Regions from separate parts of the Homo sapiens genome. Here all the other regions are linked to region 2. The links are contacts of gene promoters, found by promoter capture Hi-C in blood cells and fetal thymus (Javierre and others, 2016). All regions are on one chromosome and are shown on one strand. The core of a region is centred on a gene start or on the middle of the fragment in contact, and the rest is flanking DNA. Distances in the headings are between cores, read along the strand shown.

Region 1 (2,772 bases), core at 243-2,742, 3.5 Mb after region 2:
GAAAAACATCCTTTATATAATTGTGGTAATGAAAAATGCAAGGAAGATAATATGAAGCTGGGCCTCATGGGAATCAAGAGCAATGGAAGGGTCAGGTGGCTGTTTTATACAGCAGTTAGAGAAAGCTTCTTTGAGAAAGTGACATTTGAGGAAAGACGTAGAAGCGGGGAGAAAGCGTTCCAGGCAGAGGGAACCACAGGTGCAAAGCCTGTATGTTTGAGATGTATTGCTTGGTCTGTTCAAAGAACAGCAGTATGGCCAGTTTGGCTGGAATGGAATGAGTGAGGGGAAGATGTTAAGAAACGAGGTAGGAGAAATAGCTAGGGCCCAAATCATGTAGATGTTGTAAGATGAAAGGTTCTTGTATCGGCTCGAACCCTGAGAGTGCATCAGCAGACAACATGGCAGTGTGGAGCAACACACTGTTTTAATGAGCGCCTGGGTGCAGGTGGGCTGATGCCTAAAATGGCGTTAGCACCAAATGAGGATGGGGCAGGGGTTTTATAGTCTCCTGTAAACAGGAAGTGTCTCAGTCTGATGTAACTGCTACATAGTACCTGGACGGCCTGCCCCTCAATCTTCAAGGGGGTATGTGTCTTTCGGCCAGCTCTCTTCCTGCTTCTGCTGTCTTGCTGACCCACGCTGCTGGCCCAAGCTTGGGACTGGGCCTGAGAAGGGAGGAGTTATTCATCTCTTCAAGCTTTCAGGCCTCAGGGAGAATCTTTCAGTAAGCCATGGTACATACTTCGGCTTTTTGTCTGAATTTATTTGGAAGTCACTGGAAGGTAAGATAGGGTGTGATCTGATTTACAGTTTTTTAACATTTGGAATAATCCCGAACTTTCAGAATCATTACTAATATTTTAATAAAAGTAAGTTGCCAAATTGATGCCCCATCACTCCTGAATACTTTAGTGTGTACGTCTTGCAAACAAGAACATTGTCCTACATAACCACAATATGACCATAAATATCAGGAAAGTAACAAAGATACACTATGAAAGGGAGGCAAAATTTTACCCTTATCCTCTTAGGGCTTTTTGGTTGGGCTTGAGAATTAAAGACATGTTAACAGGAGAAAAGCATACAAATTTATTTAATATAAGAGTTCCGTGATGTGGAGCCCTCATAAGGGATGAAGACCCAAAGATGCAGTTCATGTTGAACACTTAGATACTGAATTGGACAAGGAGTAGAACACTGAAAATGAGAAGACAAAGGGACTTGGGCTTGAGTAGGTTAATTGGGTGGAGAAGTGACTAAGAAGATAAAAGTTAATTTAACAACGTTTGTGCAGATTTCCCTTGACCTCAATTTCCTGTCCTTGATGTAGAATGATAGTTTCCTTCTGGTATAGGGAGGATATCTTTGATGTGGGAATTTTTTCTCCTGCTTTCAGAAAGAAAAAGGCCATATTATTCTTGTGCCTGCTGTTTTTCTTTACCTTTTTTTTTTTTTTTTTTTTTTTTTGAGACAATGTCCTGCCCTGTCACCCAGGCTGGAGTGCAGTGGTACAGTCTGCAGCCTCGACCTCCTGGGCTCAAATGATCCTCCTATCTCAGCCTCCCAAGTAGGTGGGATTACAGGCATGTGCCACTACACCTGGCGAATTTTTGTATTTTAAGTAGAGACGGGGTTTCATCATGTTGGCCAGGCTGGTCTTGAACTCCTGGCCTCAAGTGATCTGCCTACCTTGGCCTCCCAAAGTGCTGAGATTACAGGCATGAGCCACCACACCCAGCCGTGCCTGCTGTTGTTCAAGTGCCTTTAACTCAGCATAGTCCATATGCCAGAGCTGCATATTTTGGAGCAGCGTGTTCTGAACTTCAGCCACTCAGGTTTCGTCAGTTGTCCCAACAGTGTCCTTTATAGAGAGATCCAATCACACATTTCATATGGATCTCAAGTTCTTTAGTCTCCTTCACACTTGATTGGTTCCTCAACTTTTCTGTGATTTTCATGACCTTGACGCTTTTGAAAATTACTTGACAGTTATATTGTTGAAGGTCCCTCAGTGAGTTTGTTGAATGTTTCCTCATGACTAGGTTCAGGCTATGCTTCTGTGACATTCCTGTCACTGAAGCCATGTTTTTCTTGTTGCACTCTATTAAGTAGCAGCTGATTTGTTTTTGTCCTATTATTAATGAAAACCTCTATCACGTGATTAAGGGGTCTGCCGGTTTTCTCCATTCTAAAGTTACTAATTTTCCCTTTGAAATTAATTAGCATTTTGTGGGGAGACACTTTGAGGTTATGTAAGTATCCCCTTACTCATCAAAGCTTTAATTCATTATTTGTATCTGTATCAACTCCTATTTTAATCAATGGGTTATAATCCATTGCTTTAAATGGTTCTTTTATTGTTCAAATTGGGCTCAATTTGACTAGTTGGAACCCATTCAAGCTGCATTTGGAGTTCTTTGGAGGTTTTTAGAGGGGAGGGGTTCTCAGTTTTTAAAAATATTTTATTTGAGATAGGGTCTCACTCTGTCGCCCAGGCTGAGTGCACTGGTGCTTTCACAGCTCACTCCAGCCTCAACCTCCTGGGCTTAAGCCATCCTCCTGCCTCAGCCTCCCAAGTAGCTGGGACTACAGGGGTGCATCACCACAACCTGCTGGTTTTTTTTTAGGAGATAGGGGTCTCACAGTGTTGCCCAGGCTAAAATTTTATTTTTAATTGACAAATAATAATTGTATATATTTGTGGGGTACAATATGATGTTTTGATACATGTTTACATTGTGGAATGATTAAATCAAGCCAATTAGTAAA
Region 2 (2,700 bases), core at 31-2,530:
CCATTGCACTCCAGCCTGGGCAACAAGTGCGACACTCCATCTAAAAAAATAAATAAATAAAAACTAAAAAATTATAATAGGCGCCTAAAAATATAGTTTAAAATGCTCCTTTTAATTCGGCATGAACCTGTTCCGCCAAAAGATGGCCTGTTGCTGGGAAAAATTAAAACAAACTAGAAAACATAAACGGTTCAAAAAGCCCTCCACACGCAAAAGTATAAAAAGGCGGGAATTTCCTCATTTCAAATTTTGGTTAGAAATTAGAGTGTCATCAGTTGCCCTCCAGGGAGCGCTCTGAGACTCTGCTGCGAGTCATTTCAGTTAATAAAGCGGGAAAACGCTCGAACTTAACCTATAGCATTTTGGGGCCACCCCTCCAGAGCTTTCGAAAGGGCACGGAAGTCCCCGTCTAAACGCCCGCTGCAGGCGGCTGGTGGTCCAGGGAAGCGGCGTCGACTGCGTGCAAAACAACCGCCGCCAACGCAACTCCACACCTCCCAGACCCACACGTCAAAGAACGCGAACCCCGCGGCCCCAACTTCTGGCCTCTCCGCTCCGGCGCCTGCAGCCCCGCGGGGAAGGGGCGACGCGAGGGGGCGCAGGGACAGCCCCGCACCTGGGAGGCCCGAGGGGGCGCCCGGGAGGGAGGGGCTGCAAACGGCGGCGAGCGCGCGCGGCAACCGCCAAACGCCCGCCTTTGTAGCCCCGGCCCCGCGTCCTTACCCTGCCGACGGCTGCTCGGCTCCGGCCCGCGGCGGCGGCCCCAGAGCCGAGGACCGGGGTGGGCTCGCGCTCTTCGTCACTGGAGAAGTCCGGGGGCCCCTTGCTGTTGGTGCCGGCGGGGAGCGGCGGCCGGTTGCGAGCCGTGAGGTGCTGCAGGTAGAGCTGGACGTACACGTCTTTGCGCTGCTCCCCGGCCGGCAGCGTCACATTGTTGGCGACCAACTCACTCTTCAACTTGTCTTTTGTCAGGACCGAGGGGTCTTCCAGGAACTCCGGCATCTCGGGGATCTGCGAAGCCCCCTCCCCACAGCCTTTGCCGCCGCCGCTCACGCCGGCGCGCTTGCTCCTGGCCGGGGACCGCGCTGCCGCCTCCGAGCCTCACGGCTCCTGCCCGGGAAGAGCGCTGCGGAGCGGAACAAAAACTCGCGGACACAAAGCCAAGCCAGACCCGGACACAAAAGACCCCAGAGCCGAACTACGAACCAACTGCGGCCAAGCTGGAAGCTCGCACCAACCCCAGCCCACACACTACAGGCAGGAGGCGAGCAGCCTGCTTCGCCCACGCCCCAAGAACGCGCGCCGCCATTGGCGGGCGACGGGAGGAAGCGCGGCGGTGATTGGCGAGACGGCTCGCGCGGGTTCCATTAGCCGCCGCGCTGAGCGAGAGGAGGTAGAAACGCAGTTTAAAAGGCGCTGGGGCGGGAGCCGAGGCTCCCGGCCCGCTTCTGTTTTCGTTTTCTCCACCCTTCCCCTTAGACGCCGATAAGGGACAGGTCGTACTGCTTTTGTGCGCCGTTTCCTCTCCCTCCCCCAGCTTGAGAAGCAGCTTTCGTCTCTGGGGTCGATCGCCTACGAACGCGCCGAATTCCACGCCAGTGTGAGGACCCTTGGCTGGGCCTTTCTTCCTCCCGGGACACTGAAGCTCCAAGAGTAGCCGCAGCCTTGCCTTCCCCAAACGCTAGCCCTGAAGGGGAAGAAAAGAAGCGAGGCTTGTCTGCAGGCACTCATATTCCTTGATTTGATTTACTTTGGGAGGGGGAGGGCGGGGAGTTACCCCTCTCCTCGCGAACGCTTCTTTTGTTCCAGAAACCCAGGGGAAGCCAGACCTCTACAATCGGGCACTTAAATTACCCTTGAATTTGTGACAAAAGTGTACTATACCATTCACTTCTTAGTGTCATAGTTGGGGCATGTCTAAATTGTTTAATTTGAACAGTGCGTTCAGACGCAAGACAAATTCGCGCTTGCATTTTTGTTGAAACCGTCTCTGGCTTTGGATCCCACCACCCGCAAGAATCCTAAACCTAACGTTTGATAACAAAACGAAGGAGAACCCTTGGGAACCCCCTCAATGGTCAATTTAAAATAACAGATGGTGCATAATCCTAAAGGAAGACTAGTGACCTATAATTAGGCCTAGAACCCTAATCAAACCCGTATTACCGATCCAAATTAAAACCTGGTAGAATCTAATACATTGACTGCAATTAAAATGTTTGCCTGGAAATTAGTATCACTGATGACAAATATTTGTATTTCTGATGAATATGTATGTTTAAAGATGCTTTCTTTCTAGAAAGGAAAGGAGACCTTGGATGTAGGGTGTGTTAATCATTTCCCCAGAATCTGAGCTCCAAACTATGTTTTAGAAACTGGTTAAATTTTTTTTAAATGTTTGCCTGCTTTCTACATTGCTAGGTTAGAATACATTTAAAACAAACGCCTTCACTAAAAATGTTTCCTATGATTTAAGCGACTTACTTTTATTCAAATTGCGATATTATTTCTTTTAGTGATAATTATTTTCCTAGAGGTAACTAATTCCTTTATAAAAATCTCAGTATTCACATACATTTAAGCAATGGTATTAAGCTCAATAATGCAAATTAAAAATCAGGTTTTAATTAGCAAGTTGTTAGGTAGGTTTTTATGATCCCTTGTAAAAGTTGCTTGGTTTTTTGTCCTCACAGCTTCCCT
Region 3 (2,700 bases), core at 169-2,668, 3.4 Mb after region 2:
TTTTTTTGTAGAGACGGGTTTTCGCCATGTTGGCCAGGCTGGCCTCAAACAACCGGGCTCAAGTGATCCGTCCGCCTCGGCCTCCCAACTTGCTGGGATTACAGGCGTGAGCTACCGTGCCCAGTCTCTAGTGATTATATTCTTGCCCTGTTTAGCCATTATGTCTCTTTACTCACAACAGTTTATAAGTGAAACTTTGCCTTACCATTTGCATGAGTCGGCCTCAGCTTGTCATTATATATAAAGCTTACTAATGTAAATGACGAGTTAATGGGTGCAGCACACCAACATGGCACATGTATACATATGTAACGAACCTGCACGTTGTGTACATGTACTCTAGAACTTAAAGTGTAATACAAAAAAAAAAAAGTTTAAATATGATTGGACTCTACCCCAGAGCCCAGTTTTCCAGAAATTAGAAACAGATATGCCTAAGACCCAGAGGGTTATTTATTACTCAAATCTAAAACGTTGACTCAAAACCTCCCCTAATGCCCACCTTTGGCAAACGATGCTTAAACCTTTGCACGTGGCTTCAAAAATTACCTGGCTGGGAACGCGTAGCTCTGGCGGGGCACTCTGCCTCCAAGCCAAAAGGGGGCAGTGGACTCACAGAGCCGCTGCTCGGCCCTCCGATCCCTCCACCCCACCCTGGGAACGTCACGACCTCCTCTCGCCGCTTCTCCCCGTTGCTAATGCGCAGGCGCTGGCGGGATAGCGCGCCGCCGAGCCGAGAAAGAGGTCACGAACTCTGACCCCCCAGAAATACCCAAACACAGAAAGCTCTCTCCGCCGTGAATCTCGATCCCACATCCCGTCGGCTTTCTTCAACCTCTCTTCCCGGAGCGCCCCCCAATCCACGAGTGGCAGCCGCGGGACTGTCGCGTCGGCGCCCGACGCCGGAGTCAGCAGGGCGCAAAAGCGCCGGTAAGAAACGCTGGGTGGGGACACCAGCGACCGCGTCGGGGGCGGGGGCCAGGGGGTGCCCTTCACCCCAACCGCCAACGGACGCGGTCCCAGCGCATCCCCCGGCCGGCGTCCTGCGGCCAGCGGAGCCGTTCAGTTTGGGAGCGCCGCTTGGGGCTGCTCGACTTCGGCTGGGAGCGCGGAGCTGCGGCGCCAAATGCGCGGGGCCCCGGGAGAGGCGGGGGCGACAGGGGCGGCGGGACGCGGGGCCGGACGGCGAGCGGCTTGGAGCACACAACCCCCTTTCCAGCTGCGCTTACCGCAGCGCCTCTGACCTTTAACCTGCAGGGAAAGCTTCCGCGGCGCTGCAGCTTTCCCCGCCCGGGAGAGCCGCGCGCAGCGCCGGGGCTTCCAGGGCGCACGGCTAACGCCGGCACGAGTGAGACGTGGGAGAGGCCGACCCTCGGCTAGTGGCCGCAAGTCCCGGCCTGCATCCCGTCACTAACTCCCGTGCTTTCACGGGACGGACAGAATGACTCCCCCCACTTTCACTTTTCTCTCACGGCAAATCTGGCCAGGGTCGTCGCTGCCTGTGGGCCTGGATCTTTTCAGAAGAAATGGAACGGCCCCAGGGTTCTCACTGCAGGGGGCATGTCCAAGCTTCCGATAGATAGCTCTTTTGTTAAGAAATAATTCTTCCAACTCGGGCAGATACCATTTTTGTGCAGTACGAATGTTGCCAGGTTGTCCCATAATCTTCAGTAAGTAGGTCAGCCTTTAAAAAAGTAACCGGAAAGCAAAAGCAGAAAGACCTAAAATTACGGCCTTTAGGGTTTAGTACCGCTAGAATTTGTAAATGGACCTTCGATTTTGAGCTTTTTTGAACCATTTCTGCTGTGTGGTTGGTGATACTCGATTTTTTTTTCTTTTTTTTTTTTTTTTTTTGAGAGGGAGAGGGAGTCTCACTGTCGCCAAGCTGGAGTGCGGTGGCGCGATCTCGGCTCACTGCAACCTCCGCCTCCAGGTTCAAGCGATTCTCCTGTCTCAGCCTCCCGAGTAGCTGGGATTACAGACACGAGCCACCACACCCAGCTAGTTTTTTTGTTTTTGTTTTTGTTTTTGTTTTTTGTATTTTTAGTAGAGGTGGGGTTTCACTATGTTGGCCAGGATGGTCTTGATACTCTGACCTCGTGATGTACCCGCCTCTGATCCACCCGCCTCGGCCTCCCAAAGTACTGGGATTACAGGCGTGAGCCACCGCGCCCGGCCGATGATTGTTTTTAAACTTTGCTTTAAGTCCAGTTAGTATATCTGAAAAAGCGATGTGTATTTCTATCATTAAAAGTGGGTCGCGGCTGGGCGCGGTGGCTCACACCTGTAATCCCAGCACTTTGGGAGGCTGAGGTGGGCGGATCATCTGAAGTCGGGAGTTCGAGACCAGCCTGACCAACATGGAGAAACCCCGTTTCTACTAAAAATACAAAATTAGTCGGGCGTGGTGGCGCACACCTGTAATCCCAGCAACTCCGGAGGCCGAGGCAGGAGAATTGCTTGAACCCGGGAGGCGGAGGTTGCAGTGAGCTGAGATCGCGCCATTGCACTCCAGCCTGGGCAAGAAGAGCGAAACTCCGTCTCAAAAAAAAAAAAAAAAGTGGGTTTTATGAAATGTTGCTAATCTTAGTTTTTCAAGGGGCATGTTAGTTTCTTCTAGGAAAGGTTTTTTTGTTTTGTTTTATAGAAATGGTGGGGGGCCTCATTTTGTTATCCAGACAGATCTCTGGCCTCAAGCTA
Region 4 (2,700 bases), core at 19-2,518, 4.1 Mb after region 2:
ATGCTTTAAATTATAAGTGTCACACAGGACTCTCCTGAGAGTTGCAAATGGTTTTGAGTTGTCCTTTGGTTATTTAGGACAGAGTATGCTGGGTATTCCCCTTACTTTGAGTGTTTTCTTTCCAGATCAGATGAAGTGCGCGGACTGTATTTAGAACATTCTCAAATAATAGTGAAATACAATTTAGAATTCCATGCAGCACTGGGAGAATGAAACACTGATTATTCACAGGTAGTTTTTTTTTTTTTCTTTTTTTGAGACAGAGTTTCATTCTTGTCGCTCAGGCTGGAGTGCAGTGGTGGGATCTCAGCTCACTGCAACTTCCGCCTCCCAGTTTCAAGTGATTCTCTCCTCTCAGCCTCCCGAGTAGCTGGGGTTACAGGTGCATGCCACCATGCCCTGCTAATTTTTGTATTTTTAGTAGAGATGGGGTTTCACCATATTGCCCAGGCTGGTCACGAACTCCTGACTTCAGGCGATCTGCCCACCTTGACCTCCCAAAGTGCTGGGATTACAGGTGTGAGCCAGCGTGCCTGGCCTATTCACAGGTAGTTTTTAATCCTTGGTTTACCAGTCACCTCACTGTCTCCTCTTATTGAACCCTTAATGATAAAATTTTTATGGCAAGTTGTTAGTTTTTAGAGCACTTTTTGAATGATCTTTTCAATCAATAACCTTTCAAGTAAGCAAGTATGTGAGAAAATTTGAGACATGATGAGACTAAATGACTTCTTTGAAATCTATTAATAATGGGAATTGGAACTTGAAGTTTAATGTTCTTTATGTCAGATACCCTTATGTATTGCTAAAATCCATGGACTTAATTTTAGTTCTCTCCTCCTTTTTTCTATATGCTGATGTTGAAGTAATGAAATATTCAAAAGTTGGGCAAGATGGAGGAGACAAATCAAGAATGACTCGTATAATCCTTAGTAATCAGAAATCAGCATTATGTCATGGGATGTTCTAATTCAAGAAGCTTAGAGTGAAATCTTAACAGAAAGATTAGTGAATTTTAGTGAATTGTCAGAATTTCCCCACCCCCAGGTACTGTCTCTTTGCCTAAAAGTAGATGAGCTTGCTTTTAATTTTGTCATACATATTAGGTTCCATAAGTAAATTGCCCACATTGTTTAACCTATGTGCTTTTAGGGAATGTGTGTAAATCTGTGTAAAAAACTTCCTTTTAACCCAAGTTCATGTTTCTTGACTTAAGGTGAATTATTTGAAATCCTCTCACCTTGCCTTTTCAAGTGTATGTTCTTTATGGAAAAGGTGTCTCTGCCCAGATTGGTTTCTTCACTATCCCCTAAACCTGCTCTGTACTTTATCCTTTCCATATTAGTCTGCATATCTTTCTATCCCCCGTGACCTGATCTTATTCCCTTCTTTCTTAAAATCTAAATTGTACCTTTTCTATAAGGTTCAACTCCACCATGACCTCATACATACATACATAGGAATAGTATGTATTTGTGAGTTAAATTTATTTGATACTTATACTTTTTATTGTATTATTTTAGCTTTCTTGACTTCCTAACTAGATTGTAAGCTTATTAAGGGCAGGACTTCAGATCTCGATGAGCTGTATCCTTAGTCTTTTCCAAATACAAGTTGCTGAATAAATGTTTCTTAAAGATGACTGATATGATTAGGCTTTGTGTCCCCACCCAAATCTCACCTTGAATTATAATCCCCATAATCCCCATGTGTCAGGGAAGAGACCAGGTGGAGGGAATTGGATCATGGCGGCGGTTTCCCCCATACTGTTCCTCGTGACAGTGAGTTCTCATGAGATCTGGTGGTTTTATAAGTGTTTGGTAGTTCCTCCTGCATTCATTCTCCTTCCTGCTACCTTGTGAAGAAGGTGCCTTGCTTCCCCTTCACCTTCTGCCATGATTGTAAGTTTTCTGACGCCTCTCCAGCCATGTGGAACTGTGAATCAATTAAACCTCTTTCCTTTATAAATTACCCAATCTCAGGCAGTTCTTTATAGCAATATGAAAATGGACTAATACAATGACAGATAGGCATTTCTACTTTCCCCCACTTTTGTAAGTATCATGAAAGTAAGGTTGTTGAGAGAAGAGAGTAAGTGAAGGGGAAATGGCAACAGTAAACTATAAAAAAGATTGAAGAGTGGGAATTCACGGAATCAGAAATAAAGATTCTGTTCCTAGAAAGTGAGTATTTGAGAATTTCCCATGGCAATACCAGCAGTAAGGACTCTCAGGAATGCTGGCACTATTCTTCAGTGGGCTTGGGGAGTTTGGTCAATTTCCTGGTTCCTAGTAGAATATCAGTTTATTAATTATATTTTTTTCATCAGGACTGCCCTCTCTAGGTCATGGAGAGATCACTGACTGTCAAGTCTAGTACTATTTCTTTTTTCTTTTTTTTTTTTTTGAGATGGAGTTTTGCTCTGTCGCCCAGGCTGGAGCGTAGTGGTGCAATCTTTGTTCACTGCAACCTTGAACTCGTGGGTTCACGTGATTCTCCTGCCTCAGCCTCCCAAGTGGCTGGGGCTAACAGGTGCATGCCACCACACCTGGCTTTTTTTTTGTATTTTGAATAGAGACAGGGTTTCACCACATTGGCCAGGCTGGTCTCGGAACTCCTGGCCTCAAGTGATTCACCCACCTTGGCCTCCCAAAGTGCTGGGATTGTAGGTGTGAGCCAATGCGCCCGGCCTACTATTTC
Region 5 (2,707 bases), core at 108-2,607, 3.2 Mb before region 2:
CTCAAATGATTATAAAGGGACTTCACTATTTGGAGCAGAGAATAGAAAGTAATGTCACAGAATGTGCAATGTAATATTTATCCCACGTAGTATAAACTATAGATGGGAGTGAACTCCACTCTGCCCCCTATCCCTCCACACTCAGCCCAAAGGGTGCTTCTGATGAACAGCTATCCAAAGCCTATATTTACTCCTTATTTTGTACAAAGGTCAAATGTAATTATTGCTAATAAAATGTTGGGGTTTTTTTAATCCCTAGGTTGTGATGACAAAAAAATTATTGCCTTGATAACATTCCAGTTTGTTTTTCTTGAAAAAGTCGATGAAGCAAAGAGGAAGTTACCTCTTAACTCATCTTTGATCAGTGCTACCGGTCATTTCAAGATCACTAGCTCAACCTTCCAGAAACGAACGGTTACGAAAGTATTCAAAGGGCGTCTCGGGCTTGGCACAAGTCCCTGTGCCAGGCAGGACGGAGATGGGGGTGTTCAGTCCCCAGTGTGCAAAGCACCCGACCGCGGGTCCGTCTCACAGGTTGGCGCCGCATGGGATAGCGGCTGGGCAGGCGCCCTCCGGCCCGTCCGCGGCCGTGGGGAGGATCTGCGCGGACATAGGACCTGGGGCAGTGACCTTAACAGCCCCTCCGCTGCCCAGGGGAGGCTTGGGATGGTCACGGGATTGGGATAGTGGCGTGACAGTCTCCAGGCGGCCCAGGGCGGACACCGCCCGGGGCAGTGGCCAGTCCGCCCCTCCGGGGCCCGGGAGAGGCTCAGCCGCGCGTGGGTCCGCCCTTCCCCCGGCGCCTCCAGCGACCCGCCCGCAGCGCATCTGGGGCCCGGCTCGGGCGATCGGCCAGCCCTACCTCTTCGGTGGCCGTGGGACAGTAGGAGATGAGCACGAGCGTGGTGACCACGTTGACGGCGAGCCCCAGCAGGGTGATGGAGTTGGGGGCCATCCAGAGCGGGATCCACTGGAGCAGCCAGGTCCAGTAGAGCTGCAGCGGCGGCTCGAGCAGCGAGACGCCCGCCGCGCTGTAGCGGTGCTCCTCCAGTCGCCGCAGCTGCGCCGCGCTCAGCGGCTCGCTCAGCGCCCTCAGCCAGCGCGGCGCGGACCCGGCCCCGGCGCCTGCCGCCATGGCCGCCTGAGGGCCCCGCCGCCGCCACCGAGCGCAGCCCGCGCCTGGCGCTGGGGGCAGGGAGAGGTGGAGGGAGAGGCTGGCGGCCGGGTCCTGCGACTGCCGGGCTGGACTCACCGGTCGGGCCCGCACGGCGGAGGTCGAGGTCAGGCCGGCCTGCCCGGCTGCCGGGGCCCCAGCCCCAGAAGCTGTGGGGCCGCGGCTGCGGCTCGCGGGTGGGGCGGGGCCTCGGGGAGGGGTCCGGCTGGGGGCGGGGCGGAGGGGGTCCTGCTAGGGGCGGGGAGGCGGGTGCCGCGCTCGCGGGTCACCCTCGGCGCCCGCCAACGGCAACTTGTTATCGGCGATCAAGGTCCTTGACTCCCCAGGGGCCGGCTGCACTGCGCCTGAGGTCTGATGTCTTAACCCACGGCGTCGGATTACGCCCTGAGGTCGTCTCCTCGCGGGCTGCACCACGACCGAGCCGGTTCCTCTCCTAGGGGTCGGAACACGACTCCGGTCGCCCAGTGTTAGCCACTGCAGGACCACGCTGCCCGCAGAGCCTGGGGGTTTTCGTGTGAGAACACAGTTTTGCAGGGCTCGGGTCACGGGGGTGACGGCCCCATCTGTCCTGCTTGGTAAAACACACAAGCACAATTCTCCCTTTCTGTACGGAGGAAGGCGGCCCTGCCATGTATTCGCTCTAGAGACCCATCACTGCGGATTCAGAGACCAAGGTTTTGAAACTGAAAATCAGGGCTTAGAAACACTAACAAGGAGACCGAATGGCTGAAACCCCGATACCTATTTTCTTCAGCGCATTTGATACCAACAAGGGTGAATATTTTTACACATACTCTTCCCTGGAATAAAGGGCAGGAGTGTCCTCCCCCTGCAAGGGGGAACAGGCTGGCTTGCCACACGCATTGGTAGGTCACCGGCCCCTTATCTCACAGTGCACTCACTTGGACAGGGGACATCTGTCATAAACACGTTCTGTTGCACAACCTGAGACAGGCCTGTCACTTGCTTTGCTCTTCACTTCATGGCTCTGATCTGCACGCACTTTCTAAGGCCTAGGACAAGCCAGAAATTGCTTCCAAGACACTTGTGTGGCGCAACCTCTATCGGCAAGTGCAGTTTGCCTCACGGGCTTCGTCAAACACTTGGCACAGGGGTCCACGAACTGCTGCCTGTGTGCCAGACCCAGCCCACCACCTGTTTTCCTACAGCCCTCCAGCTAAGTATGGTTTTGACATTTTTAAATGATTGGAAAAAATCAAAAGAATACAATTTTGTGTTGTGAAATTATATGAAATTCAAAGTTCAGTGCCACGAATAAAGCCATGTTTATTCCTTACCTATTGTTTGGCTGCCTTCATGCTACAAGGGCAGCAGAATTCAGTTGTGACAGACCGTATGGCTGGCAAAGCCTGGACTATGTCCTACTAGGCCCTTTAAGGAAAAAACTGGCAACCACTGCCTTAGAGCAATGAGGGTCTCTACAGACCAAGCGTATATGTCTTAGGAATATGGATCTCCTCATCTTTAGTGTGAAAAACGATGCTGACAAATGCAGGAAAGGAAATGGAATGA
Region 6 (2,700 bases), core at 1-2,500, 3.5 Mb before region 2:
CTCAAACTTTTGTGCACCTCTGTCATCTTCGGACACCCCACCCACAGCTTAGGAAACAAGTTAATGACTATTCCCAGTCCTTCAAGAAATTCATATCACACAGCAAAGTGCCTCGTGATTATGTCCAAATATGAAAAGATTTGCACTGTGTACGTTCCTCCTGTATGAACCATGTTTGTTTTTACGTAACACAGGTGCCAGCTATTCAACAGAAAAGAACGGTGGCTTTTCTAAACCAATTTGTGGTGCACACTGTACAGTTCCTCAACCGCTTTTCTACAGTTTGTGAGGAGGTAGGTCCGGTGATACTGGTTTATAGAGTCGCCTGGAAATCACCTTTCACTGCTGAGACTGACAAATGGAGTAAAACAAGAATTACAGTCTTTATTCATGTACCGTGACCTCTCATCACCCAATTGTGTTAACACATCTTAGGTTCTCTTTTACTCTGTTAAAATCAATCCTGCACCCCTCCTCTACTGAGTTAGTGTTCTAGAGGTCCCTGTGAGATAGGTCAGTCAGGCTTATTGCGATTAAAGGGAACAATAGGAAATCTAATTTTTTTTTTTTTTTTTTTTTTTTTTGTGAGACAGGGTCTCACTCTGTCACCCAAGCTACAGTGCAGTGGCGCGATCTCGGCTCACTGCAACCTCCACCTCCCGGGTTCAAGCGATTCTCCTGCCTCAGCCTCCTGAGTAGCTGGGATTACAGGCATGCGCCACCATGCCTGGCTAATTTTTTATATTTAGTAGAAACGGGGTTCCAACATGTTGATCAAGCTGGTCTCGAATTCCTGACCTTGGGCGATCCACTAGCCTCGGCCTCCCAAAGTGCTGGGATTACAGGCGTGAGCCACCGCGCCCGGCTTCTAAAATTTCACAGTTGAAAACAGTTTTTATTTTGCAATTTGTCATTCGTTCCCGTACCCCAAAACCACATTGTTTAAATTTATTTTACATTCTGGATCTAAAAGATGGCTAGAGGAGATAGCCTAGAAACATAACTTTGGCATCAAATATGATTATAGAAATGAAAATATTTTCTGCAAATGACTTGTGATGTAAGGATTAAGTACCCAACTAGGGATTAGGTACCAGAACTGGCACAGCAGTGCGCACCTGTAATCCCAGCTACTCGGGAGGCAGAGGCAGGAGGATCACTTGCGCCCGGGAATTTGAGACAAGACTGGACAACAGAGAAACTCAGTGTTTTGTTTTTGTTTTTGTTTTAAAAAAGAGGATTAGGTACTAGATCCAGGATCCAGGGAATCCCTGTCTTTTAAAAAGCCAAAAGAGGATGGGGAAGACAATGGGAACCATGGGTTGAAATTGCATTTAAGGAAAGAGCAAAGTAAATTATGGGACTTAGATATTCACAAGTAAGTCTGTTGAACATTCTGTCTTATGTAAGGTATAGCCTTAGCAATTAGAGTTTTTGTTAAGTGTGTTACTACTATTAATAAAAATTGCATGGAGATGGGAAAACTATTTTTTACTTGTATGAAATTCCAGTTATTGTTTTGTCTAATTATCAACATTTCTTCTGCCTTCTAAGACAAAGTAAAATATAGTAATTGGTAGAGTAAGGGGCTTAATTCAATTTAGTTTTATATGTTAATGGCCAGAAACTAGGTGCTTGCTTCCAGTCAGTTTTATTTCGTTCCTACTATCTCTCTAAATAATTTAGGATATAAAATTGACTGAATAAAAACCAGTAAGCCAAGGTTTTCACCCTTCGATTTTTATACCAGGGCAAGATGGAGAAGTATCTGGAAAGGGACTGTCCCAGGATTACTAGCAGAAAGAAGCAAATACTCTTATCCCCATAGCCCTTATCATCAAGCTGAAAAATAAAGAACAAAGCAACAAGTAAACACACCTATGAAAGCAACTTGTTTGAGCTGTCCTGAAACAGGGATAGCCCTTCACCTTTGTAGTGCCTAATGGTTCTTGAATGAGAGCTGTTTACTGACAACTAGATCAAAGAAAACAATAGTCATCTCATTTATTGATAGATTATGATCAAAGCCTCATGAGTCACTCTTTAACCTCCTCCTGTTCCTGTCTCAACTTCTCTGCAGCTGTTCTGGCTGTATCTGTATTCTAGTACTTCTTTGAACTCTAGAGAAAAGTTTGTTCATCAAAACCTCATGAAGTTTAAAGGTAGTCTATTGCCTTTTGTCCTTTTTCAAAAATCTTATTTCTTTATTTAAATTGACAGGTAAAAATTGTATTTTTATGATGTACAACATGATGTTTTGATATATGAATACATTGTGGAATGGCCAAACCAAGCTATTTAACATAAGCAATGCCTCACGTACTTACTTTTTTTTGTGGTGAGCACACTTAAAATCGCCTCTCTTAGCAATTTTCAATACAATATATTGTTATTAACAGCAGTCACCATGACATGTAGGAGATCTCTTGAACTTATTCCTCCTGCCTAACTGAAATTTTGTATCCTTTAACCGCATCTCCCCAATCCTCTTAACCCCAAGCCCCTGCTAACCACCATTCTACTCAATATTTCTATGAGTTGTACTTTTTTATCCTCCATATATAAGTGAGATCATTCAGTATCTGTCTCTGTTTGACTGGCTTATTTCATTTAACACAATGTCTTCCAGTTCATTTATGTTGTCACAAATGACAGGATTTCATTCTTTTTTAAGGCTAAATAGTATTCCATTGTGTATAT
Region 7 (2,700 bases), core at 117-2,616, 3.3 Mb before region 2:
TGAATAGAAAACCACAGAACATTAGAGAGAATGACCCAAACAGGAAGCTGGGTTTTTTTTTTGTCTGTTTGGTGTGTTTTTTTTTTTTTTTTGTCTTTTTTTTTTTTTTTTTTGGAGACGGAGTCTCACTCTGTTGCCCAGGCTGGAATGCAGTGGTGCAATCTCAGCTCACTGCAACCTCTGCCTCCCAGGTTCAGGTGATTCTTCCGCCTCAGCCTCCTGAGTAGCTGGGACTACAGGCGCACACCACCATGCCCAGCACATTTTTTGTATTTTTAGTAGAGACAGGGCATCTCGATATATTTCCCAGGCTGGTCTTGAACTCATGACCTCAAGCAATCCTCCTGCCTTGGTGTCCCAAGGTTCTGGGACTACTGGGCCAGCCTTCTTTTCCAGATTCCATTGTGAGCCACCGTGCCTGGCAGAAGCTGGTTTTTGAAAAGATTATTTAGGCTGGGCACAATGGCTCATGCCTGTAATCCCAGCACTCTGGGAGGCCGAGATGGGTGGATTGCCTGAGCTCAGGAGTTCAAGACCAGCCTGGACAACATGGCGAAAACCCATCTCTACAAAAAATACAAAAATTAGCCAGGCATATTGGTGCACACCTGTAATCCCAGCTACTCCAGGGGCTGCAGTGGGAGGATCGCTTGAGCCCAGGAGGTCGAGGCTGCAGTAAGCCAAGATGGTATCACTGCACTCCAGCCAGGGTGACAGAGAGACCCTGTCTCTAAAAAAAGAAAAGGTTATTTAGGCAAAGGGAGAAAAGATACAAAGAAGTAGTAGACAAAATGAAGCAAACAAACAACCAGAGTCAATAATGATAGAAATAACAGAGGTTTTAAAACCAAGTTGACATTAGTATATTCCACTATATAAAAATGATCCCAAGCTAGAAAGTTTTCCAAATGAGCTCTACCTCAAAACATAGGGTTATTCTCTATATCCTTTAATAACACACTGTAATTCAATTCATCAAAACTTTATACAACTCTGTGATTGGAACTTTTTTTTTTTTGAAACAGAGTCCCTCTCTGTCGCCCAGGCTGGAGTGCAGTGGCGCAATCTCGGCTCGCTGCAATCTCTGCCTCCCAGGCTCAAGCAATTCTCCTGCTTCAGTCTCCCACATAGCTGAGATTACAAGCATACACCATCACACCTGGCTAATTTTTGTATTTTTAGTAGAAATGTGGTTTCGCCATGTTGGCCAGGCTGGTTTCGAACTCCTGGGCTCAAGTGATCCACCCTCCTTGGCCTACCAAAGTGCAGGCATTACAGGTGTGAGCCACCTCAGCCAATGGTTGGTACTTTTATCAGTGCAAAATATATTAATTCATGTAATAAATTTTTATCAATTAGTTTCTATTGGCAAGACACAATGCTAAGATTAGGGATACATTTCTGGATAAGATGGGTAAGTCTCTTGCCTTTATGTTGCTTATATTCCAGTGGATGAAATGTACAAAAAAACCCACAAGTAAATATCACATAAACAGAATAAAGTATGGTTGGGCCTGGTGCGGTGGCTTATGCCTGTAATCCTAGGATTTTGGGAGGCCAAGGTGGGCGGATCATCTGAGGTCGAGAGTTTGAGACCAGCCTGGCTAACATGGTAAAACCCCATTTCTACTAAAAATACTAAATTAACTGGGCGTGGTGGCACATTCCTGTAATCTCAGCTACTTGGGAGGCTGAGGCAGGAGAATTGCTTGAACGTGGGAGGTAGAGGTTGCAGTGAGCCAAGATTGTGCCATTGCACTCCAGCCTGGGTAACAGGGCGAGGCTTCATCTCAAAAAAAAAAAAAAAAAAAAAAAAAGGACAAAGTATGGTTACATTTATGTGAAAATTAGGTATTTTATATATATGTGATGTGTTTGAACTCACAAAAAAGTTAACAGTGAGCCATGTTATGTTTTGGCTCTTGAAATTCTTCCATCCAAGTACTAACCAGGCCCAAACCTGCTTAGCTTTAAGGAGATCAGATGAAATTGGGCGCCTTCAGGGTGGTATGGCCATAGATTTGGCTCTTGAAATTCTGTCAGAGGCTGGCTGCGGTGGCTCATGCCTGTAATCCCAGCACTTTGGGAGGCCGAGGCAGGCGGATTACCTGAAGCCAGAAGTTTGAGACCAGCCTGGCCAACATGGTGAAACCCCATTTCTACTAAAAATACAAAAATTAGCCAGGCATGGTGGCAGGTGCTTGTAATCCCAGACACTTGGGAAGCTGAGGCAGGAGAGTCACTTGAACCAAGGAGGCGGAGGTTGCAATGAGCAGAGACCATGCCAAAGCACTCCTGCCTGGGCATCAGAGTGAGACTCCATCTCAAAAAAAAAAAGAAAAAAAAAAAAAAGAAAAGGAAATTCTATCAGAAACAGTTAAATTACTTAATAATTTTGTTTGCACTAGTTTGCAAAAATTAAAAGCCATCCTCACTTTCTTTTTAAAATGTATTTAATTTTATTCCAGATTGAAGGGATACACATGCATGTTTGTTAAATGGGTATACTGAATACTAGTAAAGATTGAGCTTCTAGTGTACCCATTACCCAAATAGTGAACACTGTACCTGACAGGTAATTTTTCAAATCTCATCACCCCCCAACTGTCACCTTTTTTGGAGTCCCTGGTTTTAATTATTAATATTGCCATTTTTATGCCCATGTGTACCCGTTGTTTAGCTCCCACTTATAAATGAGAA

What was found. The method cuts DNA at HindIII sites, captures the fragments that hold promoters and counts their contacts. A CHiCAGO score of 5 or more calls a contact.
Region 1: a contact is called between a fragment that was not itself captured here and the fragment with the promoter of TMPO in region 2, in 1 of 17 cell types (non-activated CD4 T cells). The highest score is 7.8, in non-activated CD4 T cells.
Region 3: a fragment that was not itself captured here is called in contact with the fragment with the promoter of TMPO in region 2 in 1 of 17 cell types (activated CD4 T cells); the score reaches 7.4 in activated CD4 T cells.
Region 4: a fragment that was not itself captured here is called in contact with the fragment with the promoter of TMPO in region 2 in 1 of 17 cell types (non-activated CD4 T cells); the score reaches 5.3 in non-activated CD4 T cells.
Region 5: the fragment with the promoter of CHPT1 here is called in contact with the fragment with the promoter of TMPO in region 2 in 1 of 17 cell types (neutrophils); the score reaches 5.5 in neutrophils.
Region 6: a contact is called between a fragment that was not itself captured here and the fragment with the promoter of TMPO in region 2, in 2 of 17 cell types (total CD8 T cells and fetal thymus). The highest score is 15.8, in total CD8 T cells.
Region 7: a contact is called between a fragment that was not itself captured here and the fragment with the promoter of TMPO in region 2, in 1 of 17 cell types (non-activated CD4 T cells). The highest score is 5.2, in non-activated CD4 T cells.

Annotation. Positions count from the first base shown.
Region 1 is chr12:94,986,490-94,989,261 of GRCh38, reverse strand. The region is part of intron 3 of NDUFA12 (NADH:ubiquinone oxidoreductase subunit A12); the gene reads left to right. Among named protein-coding and RNA genes, the nearest start is that of NDUFA12, 16 kb to the left of the region's middle. The HindIII fragment of the contact is 1,580 bases long and covers 703-2,282 here.
Region 2 is chr12:98,514,170-98,516,869 of GRCh38, reverse strand. It overlaps TMPO (thymopoietin), which reads right to left and starts at 1,280. Exons shown (of 9, transcript NM_001032283.3): 1 at 724-1,280. The coding sequence starts at 1,002. It overlaps TMPO-AS1 (TMPO antisense RNA 1), which reads left to right and starts at 644. Exons shown (of 2, transcript NR_027157.1): 1 at 644-879; 2 at 973-2,700. RefSeq lists a silencer at 521-790 and enhancers at 1,131-1,320, 1,581-1,660. The HindIII fragment of the contact is 4,246 bases long and covers 1-2,700 here.
Region 3 is chr12:95,071,610-95,074,309 of GRCh38, reverse strand. It overlaps NR2C1 (nuclear receptor subfamily 2 group C member 1), which reads left to right and starts at 692. Exons shown (of 14, transcript NM_003297.4): 1 at 692-930. RefSeq lists enhancers at 595-914, 605-1,105 and a silencer at 995-1,274. The HindIII fragment of the contact is 306 bases long and covers 1,266-1,571 here.
Region 4 is chr12:94,455,754-94,458,453 of GRCh38, reverse strand. All of the region lies in intron 1 of CEP83 (centrosomal protein 83), which reads left to right. Among named protein-coding and RNA genes, the nearest start is that of CEP83, 2.8 kb to the left of the region's middle. RefSeq lists a silencer at 2,510-2,659. The HindIII fragment of the contact is 573 bases long and covers 982-1,554 here.
Region 5 is chr12:101,696,290-101,698,996 of GRCh38, reverse strand. CHPT1 (choline phosphotransferase 1) reads right to left here and starts at 1,357. Exons shown (of 9, transcript NM_020244.3): 1 at 863-1,357. The coding sequence starts at 1,135. RefSeq lists silencers at 624-813, 1,074-1,413 and an enhancer at 1,634-1,883. The HindIII fragment of the contact is 18,657 bases long and covers 1-2,707 here.
Region 6 is chr12:102,058,841-102,061,540 of GRCh38, reverse strand. WASHC3 (WASH complex subunit 3) reads left to right here. Exons shown (of 7, transcript NM_016053.4): 2 at 195-293. Among named protein-coding and RNA genes, the nearest start is that of WASHC3, 1.8 kb to the left of the region's middle. The HindIII fragment of the contact is 3,599 bases long and covers 1-2,700 here.
Region 7 is chr12:101,836,138-101,838,837 of GRCh38, reverse strand. It overlaps the pseudogene RNA5SP369. Among named protein-coding and RNA genes, the nearest start is that of GNPTAB, 6.5 kb to the right of the region's middle. The HindIII fragment of the contact is 4,973 bases long and covers 1-2,700 here.